2 separate regions of the Homo sapiens genome follow, and region 2 is linked to region 1. Evidence: promoter capture Hi-C in human tissues and cell types (Jung and others, 2019). All regions are on one chromosome and are shown on one strand. Each heading gives the region's core, a stretch centred on a gene start or on the middle of the fragment in contact. The rest is flanking DNA. Distances are from core to core; before and after follow the strand shown. Region 1 holds the start of ZNF439 (zinc finger protein 439). Region 2 overlaps ZNF44 (zinc finger protein 44).

What was found. Contacts are between HindIII fragments. The study calls those that stand out against the background at their distance.
Region 2: a contact is called between a fragment that was not itself captured here and the fragment with the promoter of ZNF439 in region 1, in 2 of the 25 tissues and cell types used here (dorsolateral prefrontal cortex and mesenchymal stem cells).

What each region holds. Positions count from the first base shown.
Region 1 is chr19:11,845,947-11,851,625 of GRCh38, reverse strand. It overlaps ZNF439 (zinc finger protein 439), which reads right to left and starts at 2,900. Exons shown (of 4, transcript NM_001348719.2): 1 at 2,696-2,900. The coding sequence starts at 2,758. The HindIII fragment of the contact is 2,018 bases long and covers 1,213-3,230 here.
Region 2 is chr19:12,272,219-12,278,318 of GRCh38, reverse strand. ZNF44 (zinc finger protein 44) reads left to right here. Exons shown (of 4, transcript NM_016264.4): 2 at 2,237-2,363; 3 at 3,286-3,346; 4 at 4,256-6,100. The coding sequence ends at 5,912. Among named protein-coding and RNA genes, the nearest start is that of ZNF44, 20 kb to the left of the region's middle. The HindIII fragment of the contact is 9,813 bases long and covers 1-6,100 here.

The DNA.
Region 1 (5,679 bases), core at 1,651-4,150:
AAATGTAATCCTATTATATTTATTTGCCGTTTCCCTATATAAGTGTTAGGGAAGCAGGTGCCTAGGGGAGCCAGAGAAAGACCAACCAGCTCCATCTTGAGACTAACAAGAAACACTCCTTGCCAGTCACAACCCATAGTCATAAAATGTTTCCCATGAAGAAAACAGCCTGAAGATGCCTGCAAGTATCCTTACACTCCCACAACGACAGAATGTCCCGATGTCCCAATACCCCAATACCCATAATATGTGCTTTCAAGGTAATTATAGTTATGCTTTAATGCACTTGTGCACTAAAATGTAAAGGATAGTTTTCTTTAAATCAACAGAGTAATAAATTTTGTGATGCTGTCAGCCCACATGCAGGTAGGCACAGCTTAGTTTATTCTTTACATAGACAAGATCCCTACATAAGAAAAACTTAAGACAGTACATTCCTCCTCTTGCTGTATGAGGATGCCCTACTCTGTAACAGAGAAGCTTTCTTTCTTCTTCTTCTTCTTTTTTATTTTTTTAAATAGAGACAGGGTCTCGCTGTGTTGGCCAGGTTGGTCTTCAACTCTTTTTTGTTTGTTTGTTTTGTTTTTGTTTTTTGAGATGGGGTCTCACTCTGTTACCCAGGCTGGAGTGCAGTGGCGCATCCTCGGCTGGGCTGCAACCTCTGCCTCCCAGGTTCAAGTGATTGTCCCACCTCAGCCTCCTGAGTAACTGAGACTACAGGCACAGGCCACCACATCCGGCTAATTTTTCTTATTTTTGGAAGAGACGGGGTTTCGCTAAGTTGCCCAGGCTGGTCTCGAACTCCTGAGCTCAAGTGATCCTCTCGCCTGGGCCTCCCAAAGTGCTTGGATTACAGGCCTAAGCCATCATGCTGGCCCAGAGTAGCTTTCAATAAACTCTCTTCGCACTGCACTTTGTGACTCGTCTTGAATTCCTTCCTGTGTGAGATCCAAGAACTCTCTTGGGGTCTGATCAGGACCTCTTTTTTCAGTAATATAAGCAAGAACATAACTTCCAATTTTGGAGTACTGAGTCCATTTTTCTGGAGTCTGTGTTTTGGTCATTGCTATCTTTCTGCTTGAATAAACTCTTCCAACTGAAATCTGAACCTTTTGATTATTTCCGGTTGACAAGTCCAAATAAGGCGACTGCATCTCTGCAACCAATCAAGCATTTATCTGGTTTGTCTCCTCATGTACCTTATAAAAGCCTAGCCTTAAACATGTAAAACAAAAATAAAAACATATCTTCTGGCATGGCGATGTGGCTCACATCTGTAATCCCAGCACTTTGGGAGGCCGAGGGGGGTGGATCACTTGAGGTCAGGAGTTTGAGAACAGCCTGGCCAACATGGTGAAACCCCATCTCTACTAAAAATACAACAATTAGCTGGGGGTGGTGGTGCGTGCCTGTAATCCCAGCTACTCAGGAGGCTGAGGCAGGAGAATCCCTTGAACCCAGAAGGCAGAGGTTGCAGTGAGCCGAGATCGAGCCATTGCACACCAGCCTGGGCGACAGAAGGAGACTCCGTCTCAAACAAAAACAAAAACAAACAAAGTACCTTCCCAGCTAAGTGAAGTGACTGGCTCTTGGCCAAGGGAACCCCCAAAACACCCTGAAAATTGAGTGCCTCTGTATGACAGGATGGGAGGTGAGACAGGTCTCCTTATACCCTCTCCCTTTAGGAGTTTACATGCAGCAACTGACGCACATTCATGTAAAAACAGACATTCTCTGACTGGAAAAACAGACTCCTTGTGGCAACAAGATACCAAATTACAAACAAGACCTAAGGCCACGCAAGGCAAAGGTAAAGTTACGTCTTAGAATTCATAAAATCTAGAGAAACAGGACTGTTTTTTGGCTGGGATGGAATGAAGTGGCAGATAACAGACCCCCTTCCTTCAGCATTCCTTCCTACCTCCTCCAAACTTTAGACAAAGCTTCACACTCTCAACCAGCTGCCACCTACAGAATCCCTCAACCACCTGTGCCTCCTAACCCCCCTTCCACAGGTCCCACCCTTTCTGCCAATGGAATTTACACCTTCCAGCCTTGATCCATCATTTTCCCTGCAATTCCTGTCTCTCTGAAATGAATAAAACCAAACTGTCCTGAGCCGCCTCCGGACCACTTACTCCAGGCTGCTTGGGGTTGTGTTTCCCTCGGCCAAGGTCTCTCCTACTCGGCTCTGAATACACTTCTGTATTTTACATAGTCTGTTTTTTTTCCGTTGACAAACCACAAGCCAGGACCGGGTGTTTCTCATTCGTGAATGGCTGTTTCCTCAAATGAACTTTTTGTTAACGTACCTCAGTATAATTTTTAACAGGAGAAAGTGGAGGCTGTGGGCCCCACAGACCGCTGCTCCTCCTACGGACGAAATCCACACCCGAGTCGAAATCCGCGCATGACCCTCCCGTGGCCCCCGCACAAGCTGGGGCGTCGGGCTGCGGGCGCGGAGCTGCACAAAAGGGCTTCGGGGCCAAGGCCGCAGTCGACGGGCAGGGACGGGACAGGACGCCCGGAGTCCCGGCTGCCGGCCCACCCACATCCAGCGGCCGCGGGGACCGAGGGCCGAGCAGCTCTAGGAGGACTCGGTCCCAGACCCCGGAGTCGCCCACAGGGAGGCCCGGGTCCCGCCAGTTCCAGGCAGCCCCTCCCCCATCGCACCACTCCCGGCCAGCACACGCACCATTTCCCGGCTTTCAGATGTACCGGGGTCCTCTCTACAGCTCCTGTGAGTAAAGCAGGGCATAGCGCAGGTGACAGAGCGACAGAAATCTGGGTAGAGGCACTAGGTCCCTCTCGGGGCTGGAAAGGCCAGATCCCAACCGCCGCCCTCGCAGCGACAAAGGTGACGGCAGGAATGCAACATCCTCCGTGCCTGGATGCACAGTGGGCAGGGCCCCGAGCCAGTGCCTCTGATTGGATGGAATGTTCGGCCCCGCCCCCCACGTCTAAGTGACAGCGGAAGCCCTGGGTATCAGGCCCTGCGGAGCCAGACTGACAGATTCTAGCAACAGCTTCTCTAAGCTTACACGAGCTGCTTCCTGCACTCGGGTTATTGGATAGTTGCATTTCAGCCAAACTTGCTATTGTTAGAAGAGAACACTAGCGTCTTCCTCACTCAAAGGACTGTCCCCGCTCCTTCGTTCTGCACGGGGTCACAGGAGTGTGCAGGGAATTTCAGACTCAGTGTCCACAGGAGCCATCTCCTGCCTCAGAGCAGCAGGGGAACCGAGACCAGGCCAGGCAAGACTGCACCAGGAGGAGAGGCATATTTCCTCGAGCGGGCCGGAATTGGGGATGAGGCATGGCCAAGACTTGCTCACACACCCCCATCCCCTCCTCACAGTATGAAAATGCTCCGTCCTTCCAGATCTTCATTTTCACCTGCAGGAAACTCTCACCTGGGGTTAAGCTTCGGACCTAAATAAACTGTCAACCTCATAAACCTTTTATCCAGGTGACGCCACCAAACAATTGTGTCTCTAGCCTGATTTTCACACATTTTCTTTATATATACAAATAACTCTGACTCCAGCGACCCCATGTATGTCAAACCCCAAACCCTGCCCAGAAGACAGCCCCAGGCTCCAGAGGTACAACACCAGAAAGGACAGAACCCCACAAATGCGTCTGCACGAAGGTCTTCTGCTTTCCAGGGCCCTACAGCTTCTCGGAATCCACACTCCTTCTGGAGCTGCTCTGAGCAGCTGGAGGCCACCTGTAGGGGAGGGCGGGCTGCCCAGGAAGCCCCCAGGAAAAGCTCCTTTCCCTTCCTTTGCAGGCTCCAGACTGGCCTCAGCGTGGAGTCACTGGCCTCGGGCTCTGCTGCCCCTGCAGGTTATTCAGCTACTTCTCACCCCATTGATCAGTTCCATGACACAAACACCCTCAATCCCATTGTGTGAATAAGACACCAGCAGAGTCCCTGCTCTCCTCCTATGTTTATGTATAAAGTGGGGAAGGAAAATTCTAAGATAACTTAAGTACATTTAAAAGACTTCCAGATCGCGGTGGAGGTGGCAGCGGAGGGACCCACGGTCACTGACACTGCAGCACCTCCAGGCCTGTCTGGTCAGAGAAAGGGTGGAAAGCTGGAGATGGATGTGGATACGTGGAGGGAGCAGCCCTGGGAACTGGGCTCTGCAGCAGCGCGGCTCTAGGGCCTGGAGCCCGGGAGAGCACAGATGGGGGCTCCTGGGACAGGATGCTCAAAGAAGAGTCAGGTGGCTTCCATGAAATGGGGTGCTATGGCAGCTGGTGAGGGCCTGTGGCTATCATAATTTGGGACGTGAAAACTTGGATTCCGTGGGAATTTATGAAGAGGAAGGCTCTGATGACAAAGAAGTCATCGATGAGGAGGGGGATGAGGGTCACTGGCAAGCTCGCTTCCTTATGGAAAGAAAAGTGAACACCCAACTACTGCTGCAAAATGGGGTGAAAGGATGAGACTCTCACTGTCAGGGAATAAACTGCTGCAGAACTCTTAGAGATTGCAAAGACCTTTCAACAACAGCCTGGGAGGCCGGGTGCCATGGCTTACACCTGCAATCCCAACATTTTAGGAGGCCAAAGTGGGAGGATCACTTGAAGCCCGAAGTTGAAGACCACCCTGAGCAGTGAAGTGAGACACTCCCATCTCCATAATTTTTTTTTTATTAGCCTGGAGAGGTGGTGTGTACCCTTAGTCTCAGCTACTCAGGAGCCTGAGGCAGGAGGATTACTCGAGCCCCAAAGTTTGAGGCTGCTGTGAGCTTTGATCAGGCTACTGTACTTCAGCAAGACACGGTCTCAAAAAAAAAAAAATCCCACCAAATTCCCTGGGGAAACCCTGACCCCCTTGGATGGTCTAATTGTAAAACACAGAGGGTGGTGACGTTTCCTTATGGACTGGATCATTCTAGCCATGTAAGAGGCTTGGACTACTGAGGATTTACCAGGCGGATGACCTCCTTGCTGTCAATGTAAAAGGCCCCTGGTGAAACCATCCCTTTAAACTTTATCAAATTCATCAGGGAGGAAGGGAGGAGGAAAACTTAAACCAAGCTGGCAGCACCTTCAGCATTAATCATTAAGTCAGCTTGTTCTCTGACCTTCCTCATATTTGTTTCATACCTAGTGTCCTAGAATCCCACAGACCCTAAATGATAGTTCCCGTTAACTGCTCTATAGACATCAACTTGAACATTAGATGTTCTCCCTTTGAATTTCCATTCGAAATATTTCCTTTTCAGGGCTGGGTGCATTGGTTCATGACTGTAATCTCAGCACTTTGGGAGGCTGAGGTTGGGGAATCACTTGAGCCTGGGCGTTCAAGAACAGCCTGGAAAATACAGTGAGACTCCATCTGTACAAAAAAATTTATAAACAATTGGGCATGGTGGCATGTGCCTTTATTCCCTGCTACTTGGGAGGCTGAGGCAGGAGGATCCCTTGATCCCAGGAGTTTCTGCAGTGAGCTATATGATCCCACCACTGCACTCCAGCCTGGGAAACAGAACCACACTATGTCTCTTAAAAAACAAAAAAGAAAAAAGAAATCCAGACATTTGTTGGTCTTTGGATTATTGGAGAGCATTTATCTGACACTTAGCCCAAAGTTTGATACCAATATATAGAATTATTAGAAAGGGGCACTTTGAGACTGGGACACAGCTCTGCAGGAAGCTT
Region 2 (6,100 bases), core at 109-2,608, 430 kb before region 1:
AGCGTTGTTTCTATAGATTATAGACTAACTAAAAGCCTTCCTTACGGGAAACAAAGGGAAGGGCTCTGGCTAGTTATCTGCAGCAGGAACTTGTCCTTAAGGCACAGATGGCCCATGCTATTGTTTGTGGTTCAGGAACGCCTTAAGCAGTTTTCCACCCTGGGTGGGCCAGGTGTTCCTTGCCCTCATTCCGGTAAACCAACAACCTTCAGCATGTGCGTCATAGCCATCACGAGCATGTCACAGTGCTGCAGAGATTTTGTTTATGGCTAGATTTGGGGGCCTGTTCCCAACACCTTGGCCTCCCAAAGTACTGGGATTACAGGTGTGAGCCACCACACCTGGCCTTCTAATGTATGTCTTAGTCATCTTGTGTTGTCCTAGGTGGTTGCACACTTTTTGTGTATTTTACAACATTTTAAAGTAGTTCCTGCCCAGTTTGACTCTGATTGGATTCTGTTGTAGATGAAATAGAAAAGAGAGCCTTGTTTCAGACCTTCGGTTAGTCCCCAGACTGATTCAAAAATACAAAGGCAATAATGTGGAAACAAAATGTGATCTGTACACTCTGTGGTGATCAGAGTTCTACACTGGGAACTCTGCTGTCTTCAGGACTGGCAATGAGATGGGCAGAGATGGGGCCAAAGAAAAAACAATACAAGGCTTTTCTATCATTTTTCACTTTCCTGTTTATGTATCTTTTTCTCTCTGTTAATAGTATGGGATGTGAAAAATTACAGTTTTAAATCTTCTGTTTGTTTTTGTAAAGCTGTCTACTTTCTTGATGAGAAGGTTTTTTTTAAGCATCTTTAGACATTTATGACTTCTATAAAAATTGGTTTATGTAATGTTATTGATTATTAAATGTCTGCTGTTGAGATTTATGGAATATAATTGATATTCATGAAAGCTGACACTGAATTCTGTCTAAGAACATTTGCAGTCTGTCCTCTTCTTTTCTTTCTCCTTCGACATTACCCAGTAGAAAGTTACAATTTTTTCTATTTAGTTGGTAAAATCTCTTTTATTAGTCTTTTGTCATACTTAACTACATTTGATCTACAGGGAACCAGTCACCAGCTTCCAAATATTCTCTCTGTGTAATCACGTAGGATAGGCTAAATCCCCCAAGTAAGACATTGAAAAAACAACAACAACAAAAATATGAAATATCATCTACCAGAGTTGCACATTAGGGACCCTGTGCCTAGAGTGTTTCTTTGTGTATGTCTTAGTCTATAAGACTGTTTTTTTGTTACTTACAACAGGATACCAGAACTGGGGTAATCTATAAGAAATGATATTTATTTTTTGCAGTTCTGAAAGCTGGGAAGATCAAGTAAGGTCAAAGTGGGCATCTGGTGGGAATCTTCTTGCTGATGGGGACTCTGTAGAGTCCCTGGGTGGTACAGGGCATTACATGATGAGGGGGCTGAGTGTCTAGCTGAAGTATCTTCCTCTTCTCATAAGGACACCAGAACCTCATCTGTGATAACCAGTTTATTTATTAAGCCATTCATACATGAGTGGATTAATCCATCCATGTGTTCCAAACCCTCAAGACCCACTCACCTCTTAAACCACTACCTTTGATTACTTCCACATTGGAGATTCAGTTTCAGCCTGCATTTTGGAGGGGAAGACATTCAAACCTAGCAGTGGCTGATTGGGTACACTTCCTCTGCTGAGGATGTAATACAATTCCAAACTCTCAGAGGGAAGTTAGGAGTTAAGCAAATACCATAATTTTTACACAAATAGTTTAGGCACACTCCACCCCCTTTATTAGTTATGCTTACGGGGCCCTCCCCTAAATACATTGTCTAGACACCACGAAAGGTTCAACATTGTGAACAAGCAGTTGTAAGGATATGCCGTCTCAGGACTGCTAATTGTAACTCTCTTTTGCACAGTAGGTGGTAGGACTTTGTCATGACAAGGACTACAGACCCACTGTAGAAACAGACATTAGGAGTAATCCAGGCAATAAGATTCACTTGCATAATTCACCAATAAGAGATATGTTCCTACTCAACTGTTATTTTAGCAAGCCCAATTCCAGCATCAGAATTCCAGCATCAGACAGTGAGTGCAGACACAGAATAAGAGTGGATTTACCACGTCATTGAATAAATGCTTGGAAACCACAGCATCATGGGAAGTTTATGAAGGTGAGTATAGGTTCTCAGTACTGTGAGTTTCAACCTTCCTTTTCTGGACATATGGGATGTTTCAGGACTCAGTGGCCTTTGAGGATGTGGCTGTGAACTTCACCCATGAGGAGTGGGCTTTGCTGGGTCCATCACAGAAGAATCTCTACAGAGATGTGATGCGAGAAACCATTAGGAACCTGAACTGTATAGGTATGGATGACATCATGTCTTCATTTGGTCAATTAGAGACATTTGTTTTGTGGTCATCAATGCTGTTCAGTGATTTGAAATATGGAAAAGGGATACAGTTCATTCCTGAACAACACAGGGTGAAGTGCCAGGCCCCAACCTGTTGTATGTCCTCATATAATCTTTTGTCTGCCACAGCTTAACCTACTTTTGACCAGCAGCCTTATCAGTCATATAAACAAGTGACGAGCACATATATGTCATATGTATTGCATACTGTATTCTCAGAATAAAGTAAGTTAGAGAAAGTAAATTTTTTTTCTTTTTTTTTGAGATGGAGTCTTGCTCTGTCGCCCAGGCTGGAGTGCAGTGGCTCCATCTTGGCTCACTACAAGCTCCGCCTCCCGGGTTCACACCATTCTTGCCTCAGCCTCCTGAGTAGCTGGGACTACAGGCGCCCGCCACCATGCCCAGCTAATTTTTTGTATTTTTAGTAGAGACAGGGTTTCAACATGTTAGCCAGGATGGTCTCGATCTCCTGACCTTGTGATCTGCCCACCTCGGCCTCCCAAAGTGCTGGGATTACAGGCATGAGCCACTATGCCCGGCCTAGAGAAAGTAAATATTAATAAGAAAATCTTAAGGAAGAAAAACTATATTTACTCTGCATTAAGTTGAAATGGATCATCATGAAGGTTTTCATCCTCATCTTCACATTGAGTAGGCTAACTAAGAAGAGGGGTTGATATTGCTGTCTCAGGGGTAGCAGAGACTGAAGAACATTTATATATAAATGGACTTGTGCAGTTCAAACCTGTGTTGTTCAGGAGTCAACTATAGTTCAATGAATGAATCATACATGATTGTAGTGTACATAAAATCTTAACAATTTTTGTATCATTTTGTAATAATTTATAGTGAATTTTCTGGATCTCTCTTTTAGGAATGAAATGGGAAAACCAGAACATTGATGATCAGCACCAAAATCTCAGGAGAAATCCAAGGTAATTTGTACTTATAAGAGACAGGTGATGTCCTTGCAGTGTTTCTGAGAATGACAAGAACTTTTAAAAAGAAGCAAAGATTATGAACAAGCCCAGCTTAAATTTATTTATTCTTAGAAAAATTTCTCTATAAAAATATATTATTAAATGTGACATAAATATATTATTAAATGTGACATAGCTATTCAGTGTTTGCAAAGTAGTTCCCATGGAAACAATATTAAGATTTCCCATATGAGGCTGGGTGTGGTAGCTCATGCCCGCAATCCCAGCACTTTGGGAGGCTGAGACAGGAGGATCACTTGAGCCTGGGAGTTTGAGGCTGCAGTGATCTGTGATGGCACTGGTGCACTCTAACCTAAGTGACAGAGCAAGACCCTGTCTTAAAAAAAAAAAAAAGGCCAGGCGCAGTGGCTTATGCCTGTAATCCCAGCACTTTGGGAGGCCGAGGTGGGTGGATCCACGAGGTCAGGAGATCGAGACCAACCTGGCCAACATGGTGAAACCCCATCTCTACTAAAAATACACAAAAATTAGCTGGGTGTGGTGGTGCATGCCTGTAGTCCCAGCTACTTGGGAGGCTGAGGCAGGAGAATCACTTGAACCTGGGAGGCGGAGGTTGCAGCAAGCCGAGACAGCACCAGCTGCACTCCAGCCTGATGACAGAGGGAGACTCCATCTCAAAAAAAAAAAAAAAAAAAAAAAAGAATTAAGAATCCCCATGTGCATATCATTGTCTTGAAAATAGCTGGGATTGAGTTATCTTGCACAACATTCAGTCCATTCACATTGAAGCAGGACATGAAGCTTATAGCTTGCCTGATAATGTTAAAAATGTAAATCTAATACCTGTTGATAAATATAAATTCAATAATAAACCTTTAGTAATGTACTTTTCATTTTTTACAGGTGTGATGTGGTAGAGAGATTTGGTAAAAGTAAAGATGGTAGTCAGTGTGGAGAAACCTTAAGCCAGATTCGAAATAGTATTGTAAACAAGAACACTCCCGCCAGAGTAGATGCATGTGGAAGCAGTGTGAATGGAGAAGTCATAATGGGTCATTCATCCCTGAATTGCTACATCAGAGTTGATACTGGACACAAACACCGGGAGTGTCATGAATATGCAGAGAAGTCATATACACATAAGCAGTGTGGGAAAGGCTTAAGTTATCGCCACTCCTTTCAAACATGTGAAAGGCCTCACACTGGAAAGAAACCCTATGATTGTAAGGAATGTGGAAAAACCTTCAGTTCTCCTGGAAACCTTCGAAGACATATGGTAGTAAAAGGTGGAGATGGACCTTATAAATGTGAATTGTGTGGGAAAGCCTTTTTTTGGCCCAGTTTATTACGTATGCATGAAAGAACTCACACTGGAGAGAAACCATATGAATGTAAGCAGTGTTCTAAAGCCTTCCCTGTTTACAGTTCCTATCTAAGACATGAAAAAATACACACTGGGGAGAAACCGTATGAATGTAAGCAGTGTTCTAAAGCCTTCCCTGATTACAGTTCATATCTAAGACATGAAAGAACTCACACTGGAGAGAAACCCTACAAATGTAAACAATGTGGGAAAGCCTTCAGTGTTTCCGGTTCCCTTCGAGTACATGAAAGAATTCACACTGGAGAGAAACCCTATACATGTAAACAGTGTGGGAAAGCGTTTTGTCATCTTGGAAGCTTTCAAAGACACATGATAATGCACAGTGGAGATGGACCTCATAAATGTAAGATATGTGGGAAAGGCTTTGATTTTCCTGGTTCAGCACGAATTCATGAAGGAACTCACACTCTAGAGAAACCCTATGAATGTAAGCAATGTGGGAAATTGTTATCTCATCGCTCAAGCTTTCGAAGACACATGATGGCACACACTGGAGATGGCCCTCATAAATGCACAGTATGTGGGAAAGCCTTTGATTCTCCTAGTGTATTTCAAAGACATGAAAGGACTCACACTGGAGAGAAACCCTATGAATGCAAGCAATGTGGGAAAGCCTTCCGTACTTCCAGTTCCCTTCGAAAACATGAAACAACACACACTGGAGAGCAACCCTATAAATGTAAATGTGGAAAAGCTTTTAGTGATTTATTTTCCTTTCAAAGTCATGAAACAACACACAGTGAAGAGGAGCCTTATGAATGTAAGGAGTGTGGGAAAGCATTTAGTTCTTTTAAATACTTTTGTCGCCATGAAAGGACTCACAGTGAAGAAAAATCTTATGAGTGTCAAATTTGTGGCAAAGCCTTCAGTCGTTTCAGTTACTTAAAAACTCATGAAAGGACTCACACGGCAGAGAAGCCATATGAATGTAAGCAATGCAGGAAAGCATTCTTTTGGCCCTCTTTCCTTCTAAGACATGAAAGGACTCACACTGGAGAAAGACCCTATGAATGTAAACACTGTGGTAAAGCCTTCAGTCGTTCCAGTTTCTGTCGAGAACATGAAAGAACTCACACTGGAGAGAAGCCCTATGAATGTAAGGAATGTGGGAAAGCCTTCAGTTCTCTCAGTTCCTTTAATAGACATAAAAGGACACACTGGAAGGATATTCTATAAGTGTATGGAATGTGGGAAAGCATTCATTGGTTTTATCACATTCAGATACTTGAAAGAAATAAATCCTGTGAATGTAAACGTGGTAAAGCCTTAAGAAGTTTCCAGGCTGGGCGCAGCGGCTCACACCTGTAATCCCAGCACTTTGAGAGGCCGAGGAGGGCAGATCACGAGGCCAGGAGATCGAGACC